Linked DNA regions of Homo sapiens: regions 2 and 3 are each linked to region 1. Evidence: promoter capture Hi-C in 16 types of primary human blood cells and fetal thymus (Javierre and others, 2016). All regions are on one chromosome and are shown on one strand. Each heading gives the region's core, a stretch centred on a gene start or on the middle of the fragment in contact. The rest is flanking DNA. Distances are from core to core; before and after follow the strand shown.

Region 1 (3,897 bases), core at 752-3,251:
GTTCAGGTGATTCTCTTGCCTCAGCCTCCTGAGCAGCTGGGATTACAGGTGCACTCCACCACCCGCGGCTAATTTTTGTATTTTTAGTAGAGACGGGACTTCACCATGTTGGCCAGGCTGGTCTCAAACTCCTGACCTCAAGTGATCCGCCTGCCTCGGCCTCCCAAAGTGCTGGGATTATAGGCGTGAGCCACGGTGCCCGGCCTCAAGCCCTATAACCTTATAGCACTTTAAAAAAATCCAATGATACAGAATCCAAACTAAGGGCAGGTGTTGCATATAATTGTCATGTCTTTTTAGGTTTCTTTAATCTGAAACAGTTCCTCAACCTCTATTTGCCTTCTATGACATTGACATTTTTGAAGAATGCAGTCCTCCCCACCTTTTTAAATAGAACGTTTCTCATTTAGTGTTTATCTTATGTTTCCTTGTGATTAGATTTGAAATAATGCTGGAACATTGCCGAGACGTATTGTGCAGCACTGCATAGGTGTAGTATTATGTCCTTCTCAGGGTATCACATCTGGAGGCAAAGAATGTCTCTCTGCCCCTCATGGTTAATTTTGATCACTTGCTTAAAGTATTGCCCCATTTCTCCACTGTACAATGACTGCTTTTTATTTTATTCCCCACTCCCTTCCAACTCATGGCAATCTGGAGGGAGATACTTTCAGACCCTGCAAAAGTTCTGCTCCTCATCCAACATTTCCCCCAGCTTTAGAATCCACTGATGATTCTTACCTGATCCAATCTTTGCCACCAAGTCTGAAAATGATTCATTTAAAAGTTTTTAAGTTTTATTTTTCACATATAGGTCTTTGACCTGGAATAGATTTTGTGTATGGTGTGAGATAGGGATTGAATTCTATTTTCCCCCCAGATGGCTAATCAGCTCCATTTGTTGAAGTTTATTCTTTCCCAGTTGGTAAGAAATGTCCACGTCTTCACACATTTGCTGTGTTTGTTTCAGTACTGTATATTCTATTTCATTGGTCCATTTGTTTATCCTTGTGCCAAAACTATGAAGTCTTTATTGCCATAGCTTTATAATATATATTTATATAAATATATAATTGCTGTCACTACATAATGTGGATTTATATAAATATATAATATATAATTGCTATAGCTTTATAGTATATATTTATATAATTGCTGTTTTATATATCATATAATTATATAAATATATAATTGCTATGTTTTATATATTATATATTTATGTAGATATATAATTGCTATGTTTTATATATTATATATTTACATAAATACATAATTGCTATTGCTTTATAATAAATTTGTATATCTTATAGGGCATCTTCCATTATACTCTTCTCTAAAATTGTTAGCTATTCTTGCCATCCGGGCAATTATATTCATTTTCACAACAACCCTCAGATTAAGCAATTGCCCAAGGTCCAAAAATCAGCAAGAGGGACTTGGAACCCAGGTCTGTCGGAGGCCAAAGCTCTTTTCATTACTTCCTGAGGGTGGTTTTCTAGGCATGGAGAAGCAGAGGTCAGGGAATCAAGTGTGGCGAGAGAGAGAAGAGAAGTGAAAGAAGAAAGGCAGGTGTCAGCTTGGTGTGGGTTTGGTCTCTGGGATATAGACTTTGCCAGCCAAAGGATGGAGCTTGAACTTAGCTGGCAGAACTGGAAACAGAAGATTGTAAGGAAAGGGACTGGGATCAGTGTTTCTTCTCCAGGACGGATTACCCACAGCTGTCCACGGGCAGGCACTTGTTACTTTCTGGCTGAGCAGGGCAGTGTGGCCGACGGCTGAAAGGGGAAGCTGCGGCTGCTTTTGTGCAGGGGTGGTGGTGATGAGGGTGATGTGGGGGGCTGGAAGGCATGGAGGGGAAAGGATCTGGCTGACTACCTGGAAGCCAGGACAGATCCCACCCCAGAAAGGCGCAGTAGGGGCTCTCATCCTCCACTAGCCCGCCCCTCCCTACCTAATTAAGGACCCTAATCAGCTTGGGGAGATTAAGGGCTCTGGCCGGCTGTACCCACGCCCCCGCCCTGGCCTGGGCTGGCAAGGAAGACCTGTGGGCGGGCGTCAAAAGGGGGACCGGCCCTGTGACCCCTCACCGGGGGCCGTGGGCCCGAGCCCCCGGACTTCCCTGTAAATGTCAGAGGCCCCTCCGCTGGGATAGGGTCGGTCTGAGGGCGCAGGCGAGTCCCTGCTGACCCCTGACGCCTCCGACGGGGGGAGGGGCAGGCCGGGTGGGAGCGGGAAGCCGGGGCGGCAGAAGGGGGCTTCGGGGCGGTGTCCTTGGCCCCAGTTAGTCTTCCCAGCCTCCGGAGGGGGCGGTAGCAGCAGAATCATCCCATGGGTTACTCGGGCTTGGAGAAACTCGGGGTTACGGGGAGAACCCTAGGGGAGGCCGGGGTCTCAGTCGCTCAGCCTGCTCCGTCTGTGTTCGCAGAAGCCGGCAATGACCGCCTGCGCCCGCCGAGCGGGTGGGCTTCCGGACCCCGGGCTCTGCGGTCCCGCGTGGTGGGCTCCGTCCCTGCCCCGCCTCCCCCGGGCCCTGCCCCGGCTCCCGCTCCTGCTGCTCCTGCTTCTGCTGCAGCCCCCCGCCCTCTCCGCCGTGTTCACGGTGGGGGTCCTGGGCCCCTGGGCTTGCGACCCCATCTTCTCTCGGGCTCGCCCGGACCTGGCCGCCCGCCTGGCCGCCGCCCGCCTGAACCGCGACCCCGGCCTGGCAGGCGGTCCCCGCTTCGAGGTAGCGCTGCTGCCCGAGCCTTGCCGGACGCCGGGCTCGCTGGGGGCCGTGTCCTCCGCGCTGGCCCGCGTGTCGGGCCTCGTGGGTCCGGTGAACCCTGCGGCCTGCCGGCCAGCCGAGCTGCTCGCCGAAGAAGCCGGGATCGCGCTGGTGCCCTGGGGCTGCCCCTGGACGCAGGCGGAGGGCACCACGGCCCCTGCCGTGACCCCCGCCGCGGATGCCCTCTACGCCCTGCTTCGCGCATTCGGCTGGGCGCGCGTGGCCCTGGTCACCGCCCCCCAGGACCTGTGGGTGGAGGCGGGACGCTCACTGTCCACGGCACTCAGGGCCCGGGGCCTGCCTGTCGCCTCCGTGACTTCCATGGAGCCCTTGGACCTGTCTGGAGCCCGGGAGGCCCTGAGGAAGGTTCGGGACGGGCCCAGGGTCACAGGTAGGCTCCCTTGCAGGGTGCGAGGAGGTCGGCTGGTCCTGCCGGCAGCCGGACGGCGCCGCGAGCCAAGCCTCTGTCCGCAGCAGTGATCATGGTGATGCACTCGGTGCTGCTGGGTGGCGAGGAGCAGCGCTACCTCCTGGAGGCCGCAGAGGAGCTGGGCCTGACCGATGGCTCCCTGGTCTTCCTGCCCTTCGACACGATCCACTACGCCTTGTCCCCAGGCCCGGAGGCCTTGGCCGCACTCGCCAACAGCTCCCAGCTTCGCAGGGCCCACGATGCCGTGCTCACCCTCACGCGCCACTGTCCCTCTGAAGGCAGCGTGCTGGACAGCCTGCGCAGGGCTCAAGAGCGCCGCGAGCTGCCCTCTGACCTCAATCTGCAGCAGGTAGACGGTCCCGGGAGGAGGGAAGAAGGCAAGGGAGAGGGGAGAGGACAGCCAAAGCAGGGAGAGGAGGATGCAGCCAATGGAGAAAGAACCACTGGCAGCTCTAGCTGTTTGGAGTTTCCTGGGTAATGTAGAGGCTCTGGCCCCACTTGGGGTCTCTTAGTGTACGAGGATTGCCTCTAGAGAGTAGGCAATTCGACCTCTCAAGTCCAACATCAAGCAGTAAACTCTAATGAACTGTAAACTGCAAAACCTTTTGCAATTGGCTTCAAAGTAAACCCGTTTCCACCACCACATACTCCCAGCTGTCTAAAATAAATACTTGGTGTTCTTGAAAGCAGGAAGGAGGGAGGA
Region 2 (3,805 bases), core at 1,306-3,805, 110 kb before region 1:
TCCTGAACCAGAGGCTGAGGAATCAGACCTGGACAGTGGCAGTGTCCACAGTGCCTCAGGCCGGCCTGATGGCCCTGTCCGCACCAAGAAACTAAAGAGAGGCCGGCCAGGAAGGAAGAAGAAGAAGGGTAAGGAGTGTTGACTGTGTGTGATCCTGTCAGTGGGCCGTCCTCTCATTCTTATTTTCAATTTTGACTTCTCTCTTCAACCCTTCTCCCTCTCTCTCTCCATCTCCCCCTGCCCTGCTTCCTTATCCCTCCACCGGGGTATATGACAGTCCTGGGCTGTCCTGCAGTGGCCGGGGAGGAGGAGGTTGATGGCTACGAGACGGATCACCAGGATTACTGTGAGGTGTGCCAGCAGGGTGGGGAAATTATTCTGTGTGACACCTGCCCTCGTGCCTACCACCTCGTCTGCCTTGATCCTGAGCTTGACCGGGCTCCAGAGGGCAAATGGAGCTGCCCTCACTGTGTGAGTACCTAATGCCAGCATCTGATGGCCCTGAGGAACCCACCCATCTCTTTCCCCCTTGGTTTCACTTACCCTCTTCCTGCCCCCAGATGGCTGGACTTCTTAGTAACAGATGTCCGAGTGTCTAGGATCCTAATGTATTCCTTTCTCCCACAATCAACATTTCTGAAACTGGAGTGTCCTTTTCCTTAGTTCCCACCAGTCTTCTCTGCACTTCTAGGATTCAGGTGTCCTGTCTTTGCCTGTATCTTCCAGTTTCATTCCTTAATTTCTTCCATCTGTCTGTGTGTCTATCCTTGGCCCCCTAGGAGAAGGAGGGGGTCCAGTGGGAGGCCAAGGAGGAAGAAGAAGAATACGAAGAGGAGGGAGAGGAAGAAGGGGAGAAGGAGGAGGAGGATGATCACATGGAGTACTGCCGCGTATGCAAGGACGGCGGGGAGCTCCTGTGCTGTGACGCGTGCATCTCCTCCTACCACATTCATTGTCTAAACCCTCCCCTGCCTGACATTCCCAATGGTGAATGGCTGTGTCCCCGATGCACAGTGAGTGGAAACATCTCCCCTCTGTATTTACTGTCAGGCCTGATCCCTTCCCCCATCCCTGGGGCCCACATGTCCAGCTTTTCATTTCTCTGCACTCCCCCACCCTTGTGGGACCCCTATCTTCTCATCTAACAATGGGTTCTTTCTGCCTCTTTCTTTCCTCCTCCTTGTACGTGTCCATCCCAAAGTGCCCCGTGCTGAAGGGTCGAGTGCAGAAGATCCTACATTGGCGGTGGGGGGAGCCACCTGTAGCAGTGCCAGCCCCTCAACAGGCAGATGGAAATCCAGATGTCCCACCCCCCCGTCCTCTTCAAGGCAGATCAGAGCGAGAGTTCTTTGTCAAGTGGGTAGGACTATCCTACTGGCACTGCTCCTGGGCCAAGGAGCTTCAGGTACTAGGACCTTTTCTTTCCCTCTCCCCCATGACCTCATTTCCTGCCATCCTCTCCCTCTCTTACTCCTCTGTTTGTTGGGTTCCCATACTCTTTGTTTTCTCTCATTTCAGGCCTGTGGCCTTCATACCCTACTTGCTTAGTTTCCATATGTGGTTCTTTTGGTCTACAGTCCTCTTTCTCTCAGTCTCCGTTAGCTTCCTTCCCTCAGATATAGCATAGCCTTTCCTAACTTCATGTCCTTCCTTATCTGTCTTTTTCCATGTTTTATAATATTCCTGGCTGGGCATGGTGGCTCACACCTATAATCCTAGCACTTTGGGAGGCCAAGGCAGGAGGATTGCTTGAGACCAGCCTGGGCAACATAGTGAAACCCCATCTCTGTTTAAAAAAAAATTCTCGGCTGGGTGTGGTGGCTCACGCCTGTAATCCCAGTACTTTGGGAGGCCGAGGTGGGCGGATCACCTGAGGTCAGGAGATCGAGACTATCCTGGCTAACATGGTGAAACCCCATCTCTACTAAAAATACAAAAAAATTAGCTGGGCGTGGTGGCAGGCACCTGTAGTCCCAGCTACTCAGGAGGCTGAGACAGGAGAATGGCGTGAACCCGGGAGGCGGAGCTTGCAGTGAGCCAAGATCGTGTCCCTGCACTTCAGCCTGGGCGACAGAGCGACACTCTATCTCAAAAAAAAAAAAAAAAAAAAAAAAATTCTCAATGTTTCTAATCCCATTCCCTATCTCTTGCTTGTAAGAGCCCCACCCAGGCCTTGTCTTCTGAAACTGTTGCATCTGTTTCATTTTATTTATTCTCCGTCTTGGCTTTGACTCATTTATCTCTAATCCATCCTTTTTCTTTTTTTTTCTATTTTTTTTTTTTTTTAGATGGAGTTTCGCTCTTGTTGCCTAGGCTGGAGTGCAGTGGCACGATCTTGGCTTACTGCAACCTCTGCCTCCTGGGTTCAAGCGATTCTCCTGCCTCAGCCACTCAAGTAGCTGGGATTACAGGCATGCGCCACCACGCTTGGCTAATTTTGTATTTTTAGTAGAGACGGGGTTTCTCCATGTTGATCAGGCTGGTCTCGAACTCCCAACCTCAGGTGATCCACCTGCCTCTGCCTCCCAAAGTGCTGGGACGCGCCTGTTATTCTCTTATTGCCCCGGCTGGAGTGCAGTGGTGTGATCTTGGCTCGCTGCAACCTCCGCCTCATGCATTCAAGCGATTCTCCTGCCTCAGCCTCCTGAGTATCTGGGATTACAGGCGTGCGCCACCACACCTGGCTAATTTCTGTATTTTTAGTAGAGACGGGGTTTCGCCATGTTGGCCAGGCTGGTCTTGAACTCCTGACCTCAGGTGATCCACCCGCCTGAGCCTCCTAAAGCACTGGGATTACAGGCATGAGCCACCGTGCCTGGGCCAATCCATCCTTTTTCATAGCTCCCTTTCCCTGTCCCATTCCTCCTGCCGGCCTCTTCCCGGTTCCTTGTTGTCCTCTGTGAGTGTCAGGACTATCTCTTTCCCTTTTTTCTGTGCCCTGCTAGCTGGAAATCTTCCATTTGGTTATGTATCGAAACTACCAGCGGAAGAATGACATGGATGAGCCCCCACCCCTGGACTATGGCTCCGGCGAGGATGATGGGAAGAGCGACAAGCGTAAAGTGAAAGACCCGCACTATGCTGAGATGGAGGAGAAGTACTATCGTTTTGGCATCAAGCCAGAGTGGATGACCGTCCACCGCATCATCAACCACAGGTGAATCCTCGGTCCCTGGGAAGTCAGACCTGGTATATGACATTATTCTTACCATGGTGATGGCCCCATGTTAGTATTTGCTGATTAACCAGGTAATTGATCTAACCTTGATAACCTCTGCTGTAGCTCCAGCCTTTCTGGCCTTGTTTCCTCCAGGGGAACGGGAGAAAACAGGAGGAAAATCCGGCCAGGCAGTGCCTCTTTTGTCCTTTGCCTCCTGTCATCTCCAGTGGCATAAGACATAGCACATGAGTCTGGGGATGAGGGCATGAAAGCAAAACATGAGAGACATAATTCATCCAGACCAGTGTTTTGAATGTTTCTTCTTCATAGTACTTATTACTGCCTAAACTTAATGGTATGTATTTAGTTATTTCAATGCTGCCTTCCCCACGAGACTCTGAGTTCCATGAGGAAAATACTTAGTGATTAGGTGAACAAATGATAAGGAGGGATCTCCAGGAATGTTTTGTGATAGCTGATTTTTAGGATACCATCCTGAGAAGGTTAGGCTGCTAGGTCAACTATTCCAATCTCCCTTCCAGCAGCTCACTGTTGACGGTTGGGTGACAAATTTTGTGTGTTTGCTGATAATTGCGTTTCTCAGGCCTTCTTTCTGTTTGTGATCTGTGCAATATTTTCCTCCTG
Region 3 (3,897 bases), core at 176-2,675, 85 kb after region 1:
CCCCTCACCTAGGCCCTGCTCATGCTGCGCAATGCTCACCTCCCTGGACTGACGGAGGGACAGGATATTGACCTGATCATTGAGCTTCCTTCTGACTTCTCCAGCTTGGGGGTCTCCTACTGGATTCCTCTACCCAGGGCTATGTAGGACTCCAGCCCCTCCTTCTCTCCATCCCCAGCTCCTGTCTTCTCCCACTCCCCTCTCCAGGCACCTGAGGTTGCAGGAACCCTTCAGACCCCTGGGGACTTGGGTACCACTCTACAGTTTTCGAGTGGGGAGAGGCCCAGCCAGCCCCTTCTCCCATTCATCAATGAAGATGCAGATATTCAGAATGGCCACATAGATAGAGTGACCTATTAAGGTCGCCTAGCAGCAGGTGGCTGGGTCTGACTGAAAATCAGGTCTGAGGACCCGCAAAGCGTGCCTTCCACTGGACAGGCTGGTCTGATGCCATTTTAAGTCACAGAGAATCCAGTGCAAATGTGAGACAGTTAGGAGGCAGCTGAATTAGGAAGAGTGACTGAGAATGGAAGAGAGAGGGATGCGGGAGAGGGGGTAAGACAGAAAGGGGAGGAGAGCAAAGGGGAAGGAAAGCAGGTGGAAAGGATTGAGAAAAGAGAGATGCAGGATAGGCAGAGACAGGGAGAGAGGGCTGAGGAAGAGGGAGAGAGAAGAAAAGGATGGGGAGGGAGATGAGGAATGCCTGAAAGGGTTAGAGATGAAGGAGCAGGATGGAGAAGGATGGCCCAGAGATCTGGGACATGGGCGAGGGGCTGGAAGCCAGCTCTGGACAAGGCGTGTAGAGCCACTGGGGAGCCCACTGCCTTCGGAGCTGTGCCTCAGCTCTCCAGCCTCTCCTCGCCAAGCTCAGCTCACCTGGCTCCCCCTGCGCACCTTCACCCCTCCCGGGGCCACAAAGACACACAGACACACACAGACACACACAGACACACACACACACACACACAGACACACACACACACACACACACACACACACTCTTACCGCCCCAGTTGCAAAGTCTCTCCCAAAGTGGTTCAGCAGCTGCTTATGGCTCTCTCCTTGTGTCCCCACAATGGTCAGTGAGATGGAGTCCCGTGTTCCCGACAAGAGGTCGGTGCCTGTGGCCACCCTGACTTTGTAGGTGGCCATGGCTGCTCTTCAGGAGGCAAGAGGGGCACTCAGTCCCAGACACCGTGGAGGGGCCACACGAAGGCCCAAGGCAGGCAAGAGAAGCCAGGCACAGAGTGGAGTGGACAGGGCTGGCCTCCGAGGTGCAGTGGTGAGGTGGCGAGGTGGGGTGACTAGGCCTGCCAGCCAAATTCTGGAAAAGCTGCTGCCCTTGGTGGCCGGGGTGGGTGCCGGGCAGGCCCAGGCGGAGCCCAGCTGGTGGTGAGTGAGCAGGTGTCTGGGCTCCAAGCCTTCTGGGAGCTGGTGGGGAGGAAGAGCAGGCAGGGCACTGGGCCTGCCTCTGAAAGGGCGGATAGAAGATGCCGTGGATGAAGGCGCCTTCAGGGTGGGGGAGCCAGTCCAGCCTGAGCCAGGGCCCTAGGGAAGTTGCGGGAGGGGGCAGGGTGTGGTCCCCAGATCTTTATCAGACTAATAAGCTCCTTCCTCCTGCCAGTCCCCATTGGCTACAGTGCCAGGCACCCCTACTAAGCAGGGCCATGGGCAGTGAGTGACTTGCATTGGTTCTGAGGCCACTGGTGGGCGGGGGAGGGGAGGGGGAGGGGCACTAAGTGGCAGCGCAGCTGGCCAGCCTCCAGGCCATTCCTCTCTGGGAAATGGGACAGGTAGTGGCCACAGTGAGAAAGCTGGCCTGTCCTTCTGCCCCAGGGCCCAGAGTCTGTGACTGGAAGGGTGGGAGGTGTTGAAGCTAGGGCTCGGGGACCACATGGGTGCCCAAAGGCCTGAAGATGCTGCGGGGAGGAACGATCAGGGTAGGAGAAGGGGATCTGTTGCTTCCTGTGGGGCCAGGATCCACTGGTGAGGGATTGGAGTTGGATATAAAATCAGAAGCCCAAAAAAAAAAAAAAAAAAACTAAATTAGAAGACAGAGTGAAATCTGGGGCATAAGAATTAAGTTAAATAGCTGGGCGTGGTGGCTCACGCCTGTAATCCCAGCACTTTAGAAAGCCAAGGCAGGTGGGTCACCTGAGCTCAAGAGTTCGAGACCAGCCTGGCCAACATGGTGAAACCTTGTCTCTACTAAAAATACAAAAATTAGCCAGGCGTGGTGGCATGCGCCTGTAGTCCCAGCTACTTGGGAGGCTGAGGCAGGAGAATCGCTTGAACTCAGGAGGCGGAAGTTGCAGTGAGTTGAGATCGTGCCACCGCACTCCAGCCTGGGCAACAGAGCAAGACTCCGTCTCCAAAAAAAAAAGACAAAAGAATTAAGTTAAATAATGGATTAATATGATCAATATTTTGTGGTATAATCATAAAATAGAATTCTACCCAGGAATAAAAAGAATGAACTGCAATGCGGATGAGTCTCACAAAGATGATACTGAGCAAAAAGAGCCAGACATTAAAGGGGATACGTTCTGTTATCCATTGATAGGAACTTCCAGAACCAGCAAAACTGAGCAATTCTCAGACAACCTCTACTGGTGAGTATCCCTGGCAGAGGGAGGCCATATAGGCTGCTGGAGGTGTTCTTATCTTGATCTGAGGGGCGTCTAGGGTACTTCATTCATTTCATTATGTGTTATCCTTTAATTTCATAAAGTACATACCCTCACTTCCCTCCCAAAAAAGAATGAAGCTAGGAAGAGGGCTGGAGGCAGGGCTGAGCTCCAGTGGAACTGTGTTTGTTGGGAACCAGGTCGTTCCTCCCTCAGATATGTAGTGAGCACGGTGCACGGCGTTCTAGGCACTGCAGAGGCAGAGAAGAAATGAAACATACATGGAGCTTACGGAATAGCTGGGAAAGAAGTGAAAGAAACAGTAAACAAGAATTTGTTCACTATAATTTTGGATACTAAGTGCTCTGAAGAAAATAAGCGTGGGAGGTTGGGATTGGGAACTAGTTGCTGATAGAATCACAGAAGTCAGAGCCGCAGGATAGGGAGAAGGTGTTAGGAGTAAGGTGAAGAGCATTATGAGAGAGTCAGAGATAGACTCTCCAAAGATAGGATTTGGGACCCAGGGAGAGTGAGGAGGCAGGCACGTTCCTATTCCCTTTTTCTGGACCTGTCCTCTTTCCTTTCACCTCCGAGGAGCAGCTTCTGTCAACCAGGAAGCATAGCCCTGCTTTCCTCCCTGATGGCACGCTTCCATCACCATCGAAGGAAGGTCATTCAATGCCCAGGCCAAGTTAGGGTCAGAGGGGGCTGGGATTGTGAGATGAAGAGAAGGTTCCAGTAGGTTCCAGACTGGATGTGGAATGGGGTCGAAACTGCAATTCAGGTTTAGGTTAGAGACACAGATGTGGCTGGAGTTGGGGATTGAAATGATCTTTTCCAGACCCAAATCTGTTCACATCACTCTCTATGTTCCCTCCTCCCAACCCTGATCAAGCCTGGCAGTGGCTCCTCTTTACCTTTGGGACAGTGACACCATCCCCTCCCGTGGCCCCCACGGCCTGCCTGATTGGCTTCACCCCTCACATTCCCCTTTGCTCTCTTCTGTCTGGGACCACGTGCCTTTCATTCATTCATCAACAGACACTGGCCGAACCCCTACTGTGTGTTCAGCGCTGTGTCAGGTCCTGAAAATACAATGCGATCAAAGCAAACCCCTGCACCCATGGAGCTTGCCTTCAAGTGAGGGAAGCAGACAATATTACCTAGTAACCAAATACATTAAATAGTATGTTAAATAGTGATAAGTGCTGAAGAGAAAAGAGAGAACAGGGAAGGATAATATAAAAAATAGAGGAGTGCCGGGCATGGT

The links. Contacts are between HindIII fragments. The CHiCAGO score rates a contact against its expected background, and 5 or more counts as called.
Region 2: a fragment that was not itself captured here is called in contact with the fragment with the promoter of GUCY2D in region 1 in 1 of 17 cell types (activated CD4 T cells); the score reaches 5.2 in activated CD4 T cells.
Region 3: the fragment with the promoter of ALOX12B here is called in contact with the fragment with the promoter of GUCY2D in region 1 in 1 of 17 cell types (monocytes); the score reaches 5.1 in monocytes.

The regions. Positions count from the first base shown.
Region 1 is chr17:8,000,614-8,004,510 of GRCh38, forward strand. GUCY2D (guanylate cyclase 2D, retinal) reads left to right here and starts at 2,002. Exons shown (of 20, transcript NM_000180.4): 1 at 2,002-2,121; 2 at 2,426-3,155; 3 at 3,239-3,543. The coding sequence starts at 2,435. The HindIII fragment of the contact is 12,410 bases long and covers 1-3,897 here.
Region 2 is chr17:7,894,138-7,897,942 of GRCh38, forward strand. CHD3 (chromodomain helicase DNA binding protein 3) reads left to right here. Exons shown (of 40, transcript NM_001005273.3): 7 at 1-128; 8 at 278-471; 9 at 780-1,013; 10 at 1,202-1,405; 11 at 2,946-3,157. Among named protein-coding and RNA genes, the nearest start is that of CHD3, 7.3 kb to the left of the region's middle. RefSeq lists an enhancer at 1-810. The HindIII fragment of the contact is 5,669 bases long and covers 1-3,805 here.
Region 3 is chr17:8,086,291-8,090,187 of GRCh38, forward strand. ALOX12B (arachidonate 12-lipoxygenase, 12R type) reads right to left here and starts at 1,426. Exons shown (of 15, transcript NM_001139.3): 1 at 1,006-1,426. The coding sequence starts at 1,152. It overlaps MIR4314 (microRNA 4314), which reads left to right and starts at 1,766; the gene lies at 1,766-1,857. RefSeq lists an enhancer at 454-1,202. The HindIII fragment of the contact is 26,367 bases long and covers 1-3,897 here.